Linked DNA regions of Homo sapiens: region 2 is linked to region 1. The links are contacts of gene promoters, found by promoter capture Hi-C in blood cells and fetal thymus (Javierre and others, 2016). All regions are on one chromosome and are shown on one strand. The core of a region is centred on a gene start or on the middle of the fragment in contact, and the rest is flanking DNA. Distances in the headings are between cores, read along the strand shown.

Evidence for each region. Contacts are between HindIII fragments. The CHiCAGO score rates a contact against its expected background, and 5 or more counts as called.
Region 2: a contact is called between a fragment that was not itself captured here and the fragment with the promoter of CNPPD1 in region 1, in 2 of 17 cell types (erythroblasts and M2 macrophages). The highest score is 5.3, in erythroblasts.

What each region holds. Positions count from the first base shown.
Region 1 is chr2:219,174,494-219,180,214 of GRCh38, forward strand. It overlaps CNPPD1 (cyclin Pas1/PHO80 domain containing 1), which reads right to left and starts at 2,432. Exons shown (of 8, transcript NM_015680.6): 1 at 2,267-2,432; 2 at 1,730-1,838; 3 at 1,098-1,179; 4 at 495-615; 5 at 285-413. The coding sequence starts at 2,335. RETREG2 (reticulophagy regulator family member 2) reads left to right here and starts at 3,782. Exons shown (of 9, transcript NM_024293.6): 1 at 3,782-4,140; 2 at 4,429-4,535; 3 at 5,240-5,270; 4 at 5,617-5,721. The coding sequence starts at 3,860. RefSeq lists silencers at 2,054-2,348, 2,187-2,246, 2,367-2,576, 2,647-2,696, 3,687-3,766 and 2 more and an enhancer at 3,477-3,977. The HindIII fragment of the contact is 4,554 bases long and covers 1,382-5,721 here.
Region 2 is chr2:219,362,911-219,368,631 of GRCh38, forward strand. LOC105373883 (a long non-coding RNA gene) reads right to left here. Exons shown (of 2, transcript XR_923917.3): 1 at 5,441-5,721. Among named protein-coding and RNA genes, the nearest start is that of DNPEP, 22 kb to the right of the region's middle. The HindIII fragment of the contact is 3,139 bases long and covers 1,266-4,404 here.

The DNA of each region.
Region 1 (5,721 bases), core at 1,182-3,681:
ATATTCAGAACCCAATAGGATAAACTCTGACTCAGAGTGTACCCTGTGGGGCCCTGGAGGAATAGAGGAGGCGAGGAAATGTTCTGCTCTTGGCCTTACTGCTCTACGAATCTCCAAAAACTGGTTAGTACTGAAGAGATAGGAAAGGAAGACACTAACACAAAGGCAGGAGGAGGACAGGAAGAGAAATGACGAACCAACAGAAGACTGAGAGAGAACAAAGGACTAAAGGACGGTTAAAGATGGGCCAGGGAAACTGAGCAAGAGAGAGAACAGCTGCTCACCATGGCACTCAGGAAGCCCCTCTCCAAGGCATTGAGAGTGGGCACGGCCACACCCCCAGCAGCTCCCCATTCGTCGTTGAAGACCTCCTCCTCCTCCCCTTCATCATAGAGGTACTTACTGGCCACCATCTGCAGAGGAACCAGAAGTGGTGGAGCAGAGCTCATAGCAGGCTCTTGGCTCTTTAGGGAGATGGGGAGGGGGTGTCTTACCATGGAGATCAGGAACAAGTCAGAGGATGACACATGCTGCAAGTAGTCTGGGTTTCGGTGCCGGAGCCGTTCAATGTACACCAGAGCCAGCATCATAGCACATGGGGAGATGCATGCCTCCCTGGGTGGTAGAAAGGATCACTAATTAAACCCAAGGGTCCTTCAGCTCTTGCAAGTCTTATGATGCTCGTTCCTGTCTTTACCTCTTATCTTTGGAAAAAAACTATTCCTGGCTGGGCACGGTGGCTCATGTCTGTAATCCCAGCACTTTGGAAGACCAAGGTGGGTGGACTGACACCAGGAGTTTGACACCAGCCTGGCCAACATGGTGAAACCCCGTCTTTACTAAAAATACAAAAATTAGCCAGGGGCGGTGGTGTGTGCCTGTAGTCCCAGCTACTGGGGAGGCTGAGGCACAAGAATCACTGGAACCCAGGAGGCGGAGGTTGCGGTGAGCCGAGATTGTGCCACTGCACTCCAGCCTGGGTGACAAAGTGAGACTGTCTCAAAAAAAAAAAAAAGAAAGAAAGAAAAGAAAGAAAAGACGATTCCCCTTTCTCTAGGGCCCAAACACTCTCATCCTATCCTCATTTCCAGGCTCACCGGGACACATGAGCTACATATTTCTTCTGGAGTCGGCGAATAGGGCTGGGGGCTGCCTTCTGGAGCAGTTCGACAGCAATGTCTGCAAGGGACAGAAGGAAGGCCGAGTGAGCAAACAAGCACCCACACCCAACACACCAGTCCCCACTGCTAGCAGAAGACCCAGATCTGTATTTTCTGAGGCCTTGGGGACAGGACCATAGTAACAAAATAGAGATCAAATTCTCACACACTGAGACAAAAAGCCCATTCCAAGTTCGAATTTCAGCTCATTCTAACAGGAAAGCTTATTGCCCTGTCACATCAAACTATCCAGATTTATCTGTCACTGCTGTTCATCTGTGGCATAAACATGCCTTGTTTACTTGGGGAACATATGATGGATATCCTTCGAAAATTAGCTTTTCAATATATAAATCAAGAGTGATTTGTATAGATATATGTGGCAGCAATGTTTTTTATTCATTTGGGCTAAAAGAATGGGAAATGCAAACTGCCCTCTTGAACCAAGTACCAACGAGCTAGCAATGAAGAGACAGTGTAGCCACGGGGCAAACCTCGAGCCATTTTCTGCCTGATGACAATCCCATTTTCATGCTTCTCACTTGTCCAGTCACACAACACTGCCTAACCTGCCACCGGGCTGGAGAGCTCCTCCAGGCTACAGTCGGCTTCCCAGTCCCAGCCATAGTAGAGCCTCCTTCGGATCCGGGCACTCAGCTTCTGGTGTCCTGGGAGGAACTGAAACAGGGCAGGGGCAGCGGAGGGTGAAGGGCACGGAAAGGTATGATGCAGATCCTGGCTCTGGGCTGGAAGGCGGGGCAGGGGACAGGCCGGCCTCGCTGCTAGGGGGCCCGTGCCTTACCCAGACCCGCGTTCTGTAAATCGCTTGCCAATGGCAGCCTGGTCCATAGAGGGAGGAATGCCCCCACCCCCATCGAGGGTTCCCCGGGAGAAGTTCTCCGAGAAGGGCCCTCGTGTGGCCACCCCTACGCCCATTCCTATACTCCGCGGCTCTCCCTCCCGGCCCAAGCAGCCGCGGCCTCAAGGAAGCACTGCTCGAGCAGCTGCCGCCCAGTCCCGGCACAGCAGTCAGGCGAGCTCGCAGCGCCGCTCAGGCCGGGAGGGGCGCGCCGGGAGGCCGGGGAGGGGGCGGGACCCCCACTCACCGTGAAGTCCTGGAAGCCGGCGAGGGAGAAGGTGCCTTCTTCGTCCAGCAGGAGCCCGGTCAGGTCCATCGCGCCGCCAGTCGCCGCCCTGCGAAGGTGAACGGAAGGAAACGAGTTGTAGGGGGCTCGCGGAGCTGTCCTTGCCCGCCTGTCCACCTGCCAGCCTGCCTCCCCGGGGCGGGCCGCCGTCCTCGCCCTCGCCCTCGCAGCTCCCTCCCCCCGGCGGCGGAAGGCGGGGCCCGGGCTGAACTGGGCGCCTCTTCCTGTTCCGCCCCGGGCTTGGCGCGGCGCGCGGGGGCCCTAGGCCCGGGAAGGGAGGTGTCAAGCGTCCGTGCGACGCTCACCTCGCGGAGCAGAAAGGAGATGCGGCTGCGAGGCGCGTACTCCGCCTGTGCCGCGTCCGCCCGGCGTTTACAAGCCGCGGGGGTGCCGCCTGCAAGTCAGCGCCTGGCACTTCCTGCCGCCCATCTGGCCCAGCCTCCCGCCCCGACCCGCGGGCAGGAACCGGACTCGAACTCCTGGTCTCACGGAACGTGGCCAAGCCCCAGGCGCCTCTGAGAAATGGGGACAATTCGTAGGGGGGACCACGCCGCACTGAGGATGAACAAGCCAGGCGTAGCAATGGAGAAGTTAATGTGAATAAGACGAAACGCACAACAGGAAGTTGTTCCCAGTTGCTTTTTAGGAGAGATATTATACATACTCAGCAATGCATATGAAAAGCGTCTGAAAGGACACACAGGAAATTTAGCAGTGGGTGAACTATGAAAAGGAAGAGAAACTCAGGGTGTTTTTTTTTTTTACTGTAATTTGAACTTTTAAACCTAAGGCTACTGAGGAAATTCTGTGATCTTAAGCGAATGTAAGGCCTCAAAACGTGTCAACACGTCCACCCAAAAGTAAACTGCATCTACCCAAGGTTTTGTGTTGAAACCCACCTCCCGCCTCCGATCTCATGCTTGAGTAGGCCGAGGTGGGAAGAAGCTCCGATATGTGGAAGTGGGAAAGTTTAAGGAGATAGGAAAGAAACAACTTTTCTGAGTAGATGTTGTTTTCGAGTCTGTCGAGTCAAGCGCTGGTGTGTGTTTGTTTACCCACTGAGGGGAGGGAACTGGGAGGACCAGTGCGTTGAGGGTTGGTTGAGTAATGGGACGGCCACCGCCCTTCCCGAGCGAGCAGAAGCAGACCCTACCGGGGATACTGGGAATCTGGAAGCCCACTTCCTGCCCCACACGGGGATACCGGGGCAGCACCACACTCCCTAGCCGCCCTGCCTACTGTGGGATAAGAAAACGGGCTCGACTGCCTGGACCTAGACCCGGACTCGGAACCCGGGGTACTTCGTCAACCAGAAAACGAACCTGTGTAGGCGCAGTGTCAGCGGCAGCCGCCGGGGCGCATGCGCGGCCCGCCCTATCCGGGGGGGGGGGGGTTAGGCCGCGTCACGTGACGGGCTCAGCGCTCCGCAGTCACGTGACGCTCGTCCGCAACCTCTGCTGTCCTCCGCGGCGCCCCCTTCCGCCTGACGCGCCCCCGGCGGCGGCCGCGCAGCCCTGGCTCCTCGCGGGCTCGGGCGGCGGCTGCGGCGGGGCTATGGCGAGCGGCGGTGGCGGGGGTAACACTGGCGCGGGTGGGGGGCCGGGGATGGGCCTGAGCCTGGGCCTGGGTCTGGGTCTGAGCCTAGGCATGAGTGAGGCCACCAGTGAGGCAGAGGAGGAGGCGGCCACGGCCGAGGCGGTGGGACGCCTGGCCACGACGCTGTGGCTGCGGCTCCGCGGCTGGGAGGCGGTGCTGGCGGCGGCGCAGCGGTTGCTGGTGTGGGAGAAGCCGCTGCACAGCCTGGTCACGGCGGCCGCGCTCAACGGCCTCTTCTGGTAACGGCCGCGGAGGAGGGGGCGGGGCCGGGATGAGCGGGGGAGGGAGGGGTCGAGAGCACCATTCCCCTTTCTGGGTTATCACTTGGCCTGGGGGCATGACCCATCCCCAGTTTTTGCAGGCTGACATCCGCTTGAATTGCCCATTTTTTTCTATCTCTGAGTCGTGAGTCGCGAGTTAGGCCTGGAGGTGCCATTACCCCATCAGTAGGCGCCTTTCCACCTTCTGAGATGGATGCATGAGCCTGTCTCACCCACTCACTGCTGAGGTGCCTGTCTCTCCCTAAGGTTGCTGTCTTCCTCGTCCCTCCGGCCCTTCTTCCTACTCAGCGTCTCACTTTTGGCCTATTTTCTGCTGGATCTCTGGCAGCCTCGCTTTCTCCCTGACGTTTCAGGTGAGTGTTTCTTCATTCAGTAAGCACCCATTGGGTACTTGCTTGGTGCCTGATTCCGCTGGGTGGGGTTAAGTGGCGAGGGGAACGTACAGCAGGCCACCTGCCTCCCAGGCATGGCCCACTTCCTTTTTGTACGGAATTCCCTAAAATGAGAATTGCCCCTTTCCCAAACTAATACTACTGTAGGTGCAGTGGTTAAGATGGTGAAGTCTGCAGCCATATTACCTGGGTTCCATTCTCTGTTCTGCCATTTACCATTGCTGTGACCTTGTAAAAGTAGCTCAATTTCTGTTTGTCTCAATTTCCTTATCTGTAAAACACAGATGATAGAACTTACTTCATAGAGAGGTGAGGAGAGGATTAATGAGTTAATACACATGCTATACTTATGATAGTGTTTCACATATAAGCCTTATAAATAGAACGTCAGTGTTGTTTTTCTTGTTATCCATATAATTTACTTAGTAGGTGACAGGCTGTATGTGAGTTGCTTGGGAGATAAGCATGAGTAAAATCTAGTTCTTATGTTGGAGAAGGGTAATGTCTAAAGGAGACAGACGCAAACAAAAACATGTAACAGCTCCCCCATTGGCATCTGAAGAAGGTGCTCTGGGGCTGCAGAGGAGGGACAACTATTTCTGCCTTGGGGAGTGTCTCCCAGGGCCCCTACCACTCAATAATTTGCCCCCCTCCTCTCTCTCTAGCATCATCCCCAGAGGAGCCACACTCTGACAGGTGAGTACAGGCCACCTCTTGAAGACAAATGCCCACATCCTGTCCTGCTTGCTGGTGCCAGTGTCACCATGGAGCAGGGCAGTGCCCCAGCATTGTGAATGAACTGGTAACAAGCCATGGGTTTTTCATGGTCCTAGGCTCCTGTGTAGGTGTTTGCGTGCCTGCTCCTTTTGGGGCAGAGGGTTGGGTCCTCCTGGCTTTGCTTCTAAGACCAGGACAGCCTCCTTTTGAGAGGTGGGGTCATTTGCTTTTTTAGACTAAAGATATCTTTGGCATTCTCAGAGGGATTTAAGTGTCTAGGAAGCTGGTATCTGAGGCCTCCAGGGGTCATGTCATGTCTCCCCAGTGAGGGTGCGGGGTCAGGCGCCCGGCCGCACCTGCTGAGTGTGCCCGAGTTGTGCAGATACCTGGCTGAGAGCTGGCTCACCTTCCAGATTCACCTGCAGGAGCT
Region 2 (5,721 bases), core at 1,585-4,084, 190 kb after region 1:
CAACCCTGATACACTGTGGGAGGGACTACACAAAGGCATGAATTCCAAGAGGTAAGGATCACTGGAGGTCATCTTGTAGGATGGCTATCACATGCAGTATGTGCGTGTGGGTATGTGGGGTGTGTGTTTGTGGGTGTGTACATAAAGATGTGTGTGTTTGTGTATATATGTGTATGTTTTTGCATATGTATATATGGATATATAGCAATATGTTTGTGTGACATGTATCTATGTATTGTCTGCATATGTGTATGCATGCATTTATGTATATGTATCTGTGTATTGCACATGTGTGTTTTTTGCGCACGAGTATGCATGCATGTATTATGCCTACATGCATGTCTCTGTGTTTGTATGTTGTGCATGTGTGCATATATGTGTATGCCTTTTTGTATGTATTTGTAGTATGTGAATGAGCATATGTATGCATGTGTGATGGGTTTGTATATGTATCCAGGTGTATATGTGTGTCTATGCCTGTGGCTGTATATGTTTGCAAACATTGTATGTGCATGTGCACCTGTGTTGTGTGTGTGCATGTATGCTTACATGTGTGTGTTTCTGTATAGATGTCCATGTGTAAGTCCGCATGTGTCTGTTTATGTGTGTGTAGGTGTATATATGTTACGTTTATGTATGTGTGTGAGGTGTATGTGTGTAGGTTTGAGAATATGTGTGTGCATTACTATGTACATATTGCACTTGTATATATAAATGTGTGCTGGCACATGCATACAAACTTAGGAATGTCACCTGCTGTGGGAGGAAAGCCTGGAGTCAGGAGTGGGGAGACTCAGGGAGGAGTCCCTATTATTCCTGGGGTAGCCCATGAGTGGAAGGCTCTGGAGCCTGGAGAGCAGGCTCTCCCTTGCATTTAGGATATGTGGATCCATGGTCCTCTGCATCTGGCTTTCCTTTGTCAAGGCTTTCTGTTGTTGTTCATTTTTGTTTGAACATTTCAGTCTTTCCTAAGCTGTCAAATAAAGCAGCAGAGAAAGGGTGGTCTCTATTGCCTGGAAGTTGAGAGTTCAGTGTAGACTAGTGCCCCTTTGGGGCTGGCCTGGGGAAAACAAGGGGATTTCCCTGGAGAGCACGGCTGACCCTCCCTCTCATCTCTTCTCGCCTAGGGCCACTCTGGGAGCTTCTGGAGTTTATTGGGCAAGAAGGGAGGGCATTTCTTTACTTCTAATAATCCAGTCATCTTAGGAGCCACTCTTTTCCTCTTTCCATTTAGAATATTTCTGACACCAACTTTTGTGTTTAGAAGCTTTTATGCTTTTTTTTAAAAAAAGTATTTTTACCTTTTGATTATGAAAGGTAATACATATGAACAGAAGTAGACAGAATGTAAAGATACAGCTCAACAGATTTTCAGAGTGAATAGCCATTTATACTATCCAATAAGAGGGTTCAGGACATGCCACCCAGAAACATGGCACACTGGCATGTTGAATATTTTAAGCTGGAAGGATCTGAGAAACAGCATGTGCAGGACAATCTCTCTGACTTCCCTGATCCTTCTCTCCTGAAGGGATCTCCCTGATCCTTTCCCCATGTGAAAGGTGTCCTTCCTCCAAAGATGGGGACACAGACAGGAATCTGAACACATGGGCCTTGTTAAGTCTTTTGGGTAAATAAAATTAGTTTTAAGATTGTTGGCAGGCTGGGCGCAGTGGCTCACACCCCTAATCCCAGTGCTTTGGGAGGCTGAGACAGGAGCATTACTTGCGCCCAGGAGTTTGAAACCAGCTTGGACAACATACTGAGACTTGGTCTTTACAAAAAGTTTAAAAAGTAGGCCGGGCTTAGGGGCTCACGCCTGTAATCCCCGCACTTTGGGAGGCCGAGGTGGGTGGATCACTTGAGGTCAGGAGTTCAAGATAAGCCTGGCCAACATGGTGAAACCCCGCCTCTACTAAAAATACAAAAAATTAGACTGGCGTGGTGGCAGGCGCCTGTAATCCCAGCTAGTTGGGAGGCTGAGGCAGGTGAATCCCTTGAGCTTAGAAGTTCAAGGCTGCAGTGAGCTGTGTTCACACCACTGCAATCCAGTCTGGGCAGCAGAGTGAGACCTTGTTTATATAGATTAAAAAAAAAAAAAGCCAGGTACAGTGGCTCACGCCTGTAATCCTAGCACTTTGGGAGGCCGAGGCAGGTTGATCACAAGGTCAGGAGTTCAAGACCAGCCTGACCAACATGGTGAAACTCCGCCTCTACTAAAAATACAAAAATTAGCTGGGCGTGGTGGTACACACCTGTAATCCCAGCTACTCAGGAGGCTGAGGCAGGAGAATCACTTGAACTCAGGAGGCGGAGGTTGCAGTAAGCCAAGATGGCTCCATTCCATTGCACTCCAGCCTGGGTGACAGAGCCAGGCTCTGTAAAAAAAAAAAAAAAAAAAAAAAAAAAAAAAAAAAAAAATTGTTGATAAAATAAAAGCAGAAATGTCTTTGGAGTTGTCAGCATTAAATAGAATGCAGAACTACAATTTTATTTTACCTGGGTTTACTGGTCAAACAATGTTATATCAACTAGATGTTTAAGGTTATAAAACTATAAATCTAAACTAAGAATAAAATATACAATAAAAATAAATTGCTTGATGCATATCAAGCATAGCAGTTTTTAAAAAAAGACAGAGAAGAACCATATATTTAAATTTTTAGGTTTTTTGCTTCTGTTATTTTTTTTTAAACAGGGTTTAGCTTTGTTGCCCAGGCTGGAGTACAATGGCATGATTATGGCTCATTGCAGCCTCAACCTCCCAGGCTCGAGCAATTCTTACCACCTCAGCCTCCCAAGTAGCTAAAACTTCAGGAGAATGCCACCATGGACAGACAATTTTTGTATAGATGGGGTTTGGCCATGTTGCCTAAGCTGGTCTCGAACTCCTGGGCTCAAGGGATCTGTCCACTTCGGCATGCCAAAGTGCTGGGATTATAGGCGTAAGCCACCATGCCTGGCCATTTTTTACACTTACCTGATTTGTCAACAAGAAAAATAACTTGAGATGATGGCTAGCTTTGTTTGATGTTACAGTATGTCTGCCTGAATCAGTTTCCAAATCTTATTTGGTAACTTGCAAACTTAAAGTTAGGTTAAATTAAGCAGTAGATATTCATTAAATGTCTGAACCATTTGTAAGTAAGATAAACTACTGAAACATTAACTACTAAGCATAAATTTAAGCGTATATACTTCTGGCATCTTATTTTTATATGATATAGAGAAGCTAAATATATTTGGGTCTACTAATAAGCATGTTCTTTGCCACACTGAAAGACTGTACTATATTAGGAAGCATATGTTCCTGAAATTATAAAATAGTATATTCATAAATTTACTAATCTACTACAAGATGCCGATATATGACAGGCAGTTCACAATTGCCTGCTTCCTAGTTTTCACAGCAAATTAGGGTCACTAAGGGTTAAAACTTATAATAAGTATACATAAATAAAACAATTAGACATCATAGGATGGAGGGAAACAACTTTGTATGCAAAGTATGCAAGGTATGAAGAAATTATTATTATTATTATTATTTGAGACCGAGTCTTGCTCTGTCACCCAAGCTGGAGTGCAGTGGCGCGATATCGGCCCACTGCAAACTCCACCTTCCGGGTTCAAGCGATTCTCCTGCCTCAGCCTCCCTAGTAGCTGGAATTACAGGCACATGCCACCATACCCAGCTAATTTTTGTATTTTTAGTAGAGATGGGGTTTCGCCATGTTGGCCAGTCTGGTCTCCAATTCCTGACCTCAGGTGATCCGCCCGCCTCGGCCTCCCAAAGTGCTGGGATTACAGGCGGGAGCCACTGTGCCTAGCCAGCCGTGGGTTTTTCATAGATGCCTTTATCAGGTTGAGCAAGCTCTTTTCTATTTCTGAATGTTGAATATTTTTATTATGAAAGGGTTTGGGATTGTACCAAATGCTTTTTCTGCATCAATTGAGATCATGTGGGTTTTGCTCTTTATTCTATAATATAATGTATTACATTAATTAATTTTAATATGTTGAAGTAAACCTGCATTCTTGGGATGTCCACTTTATTATAGTACATTACCAGCCTGGCCAACATGGCGAAACCCCATCTCTACTAAAAATACAAAAATTAGCTGGGCGTGGTGGTAGGTGCCTGTAATCACTGCTACTCAGGAGGCTGAGGCAGGAGAATTGCTTGAACCTAGGAGGCAGAGGTTGCTGTGAGCCAAGATTGCGCCACTGCACTCCAGCCTGGGCAACGAGTGAAACTCCATCTCAAAAACAAACAAACAAAAAAAAAACCAAATTGCCACCTTTGTCATAAACCAAGTATCAAATATTCATTTGTCTCTGTTCTATTGGTGAGTTTTATTCTTGAACCAAGAATATACTATCTTAATTTCTGTAGTTTTTATAATAAGCTTTGACAACAAATAAGGCAGTTGTCTTCTTCGATTCTTTTTTAAAAAAAATTTTTAAGATACGGGGTCTCACTATGTTTGTCAGACCGATCTCTAACTCCTGGGATCAAGCAATCATTTCATCTCAGCCTCCCAAGTAGACAGGACTACAGGCACGCACCACTACACCCAGCTCAAATCTTGGCTATAAAAAAGTATCAGCTTGTCAACTCCCACACAAAAAGAAGAAAAGCAAGGAGGAGGAGAGAAACTGTCGGTATTTTTATTAGAATTGCACTGAATCTATGTATCAATTTGGAGGATAACATATTTTACAATATTGAGTTTCACATCATGAATAAGAGATATCTTCCAAATCATTTGGACCTTCTTACATAAAATTTTCTCTATAGAGGCCGGGTGTGGTGGTTCACATCTGTAATCCCAGCACTTCGTGAGGCTAAGGCGGGCGGATCACCTGAGGTCAGGAGTTCAAGACCAGCCTGACCAACGTGGTGAAATCCCATCTCTACTAAAAATACAAAATTAGCTGGGCATGGTGGCACATGCCTGTAATCCCAGCTATTTGGGAGGCTGAGGCAGGAGAATCACTTGAACCTGGGAGGCGAGGGTTGCAGTGAGCCAAGATCACACCATTGCACTCCAGCCTGGGTGACAGAGCAAGACTCTGTCTCAAAAAACACACACACACACACACACACACACACACACACACACACACAAATTTTCTCTGTAGAGATCTTGCATAACTTTATTGACAGATACTTGATTTTTATGCTTGTAGAAGTAAACCTTTTAAAAATTTCGTTTTCTACCCATTTTTTATTGGTATGTAGAAATAAAATTGATATTTGTATGTTGATTTTTCAGCCAGCTGTATTGATAAACTCTCTCATTACGGCCGGGTGCAGTGGCTTACACCTGTAATCCCAGCACTTTTGGAGGCCGAGGCAGGCCGATCACGAGGCCAGGAGATCAAGACCATCCTGGCCAGCATGGTGAAACCCTGTCTCTACTAAAAGTACAAAAATTACCTGGGTGTGGTGGTGTGCACCTGTAGTCCCAGCTACTCGGGAGACTGAGGCAGGAGAATGGCTTGAACCTTGGAGGCAGAGGTTGAAGTGAACCAAGATCACACCACTGCACTCCAGCCTGGGTGACAGAGCGAGTCTCGGTCTCAAAAATAAATAAATAAATAACTTATTAATTCAAATAGTATAACTTTTGGATTTTCTACATAACAAATAATATAAAAAGAAAGTTTTATTCCTCCCTTTCCACCTTTCTTTCATTCCTTTTCTTGTTTTAGTACATA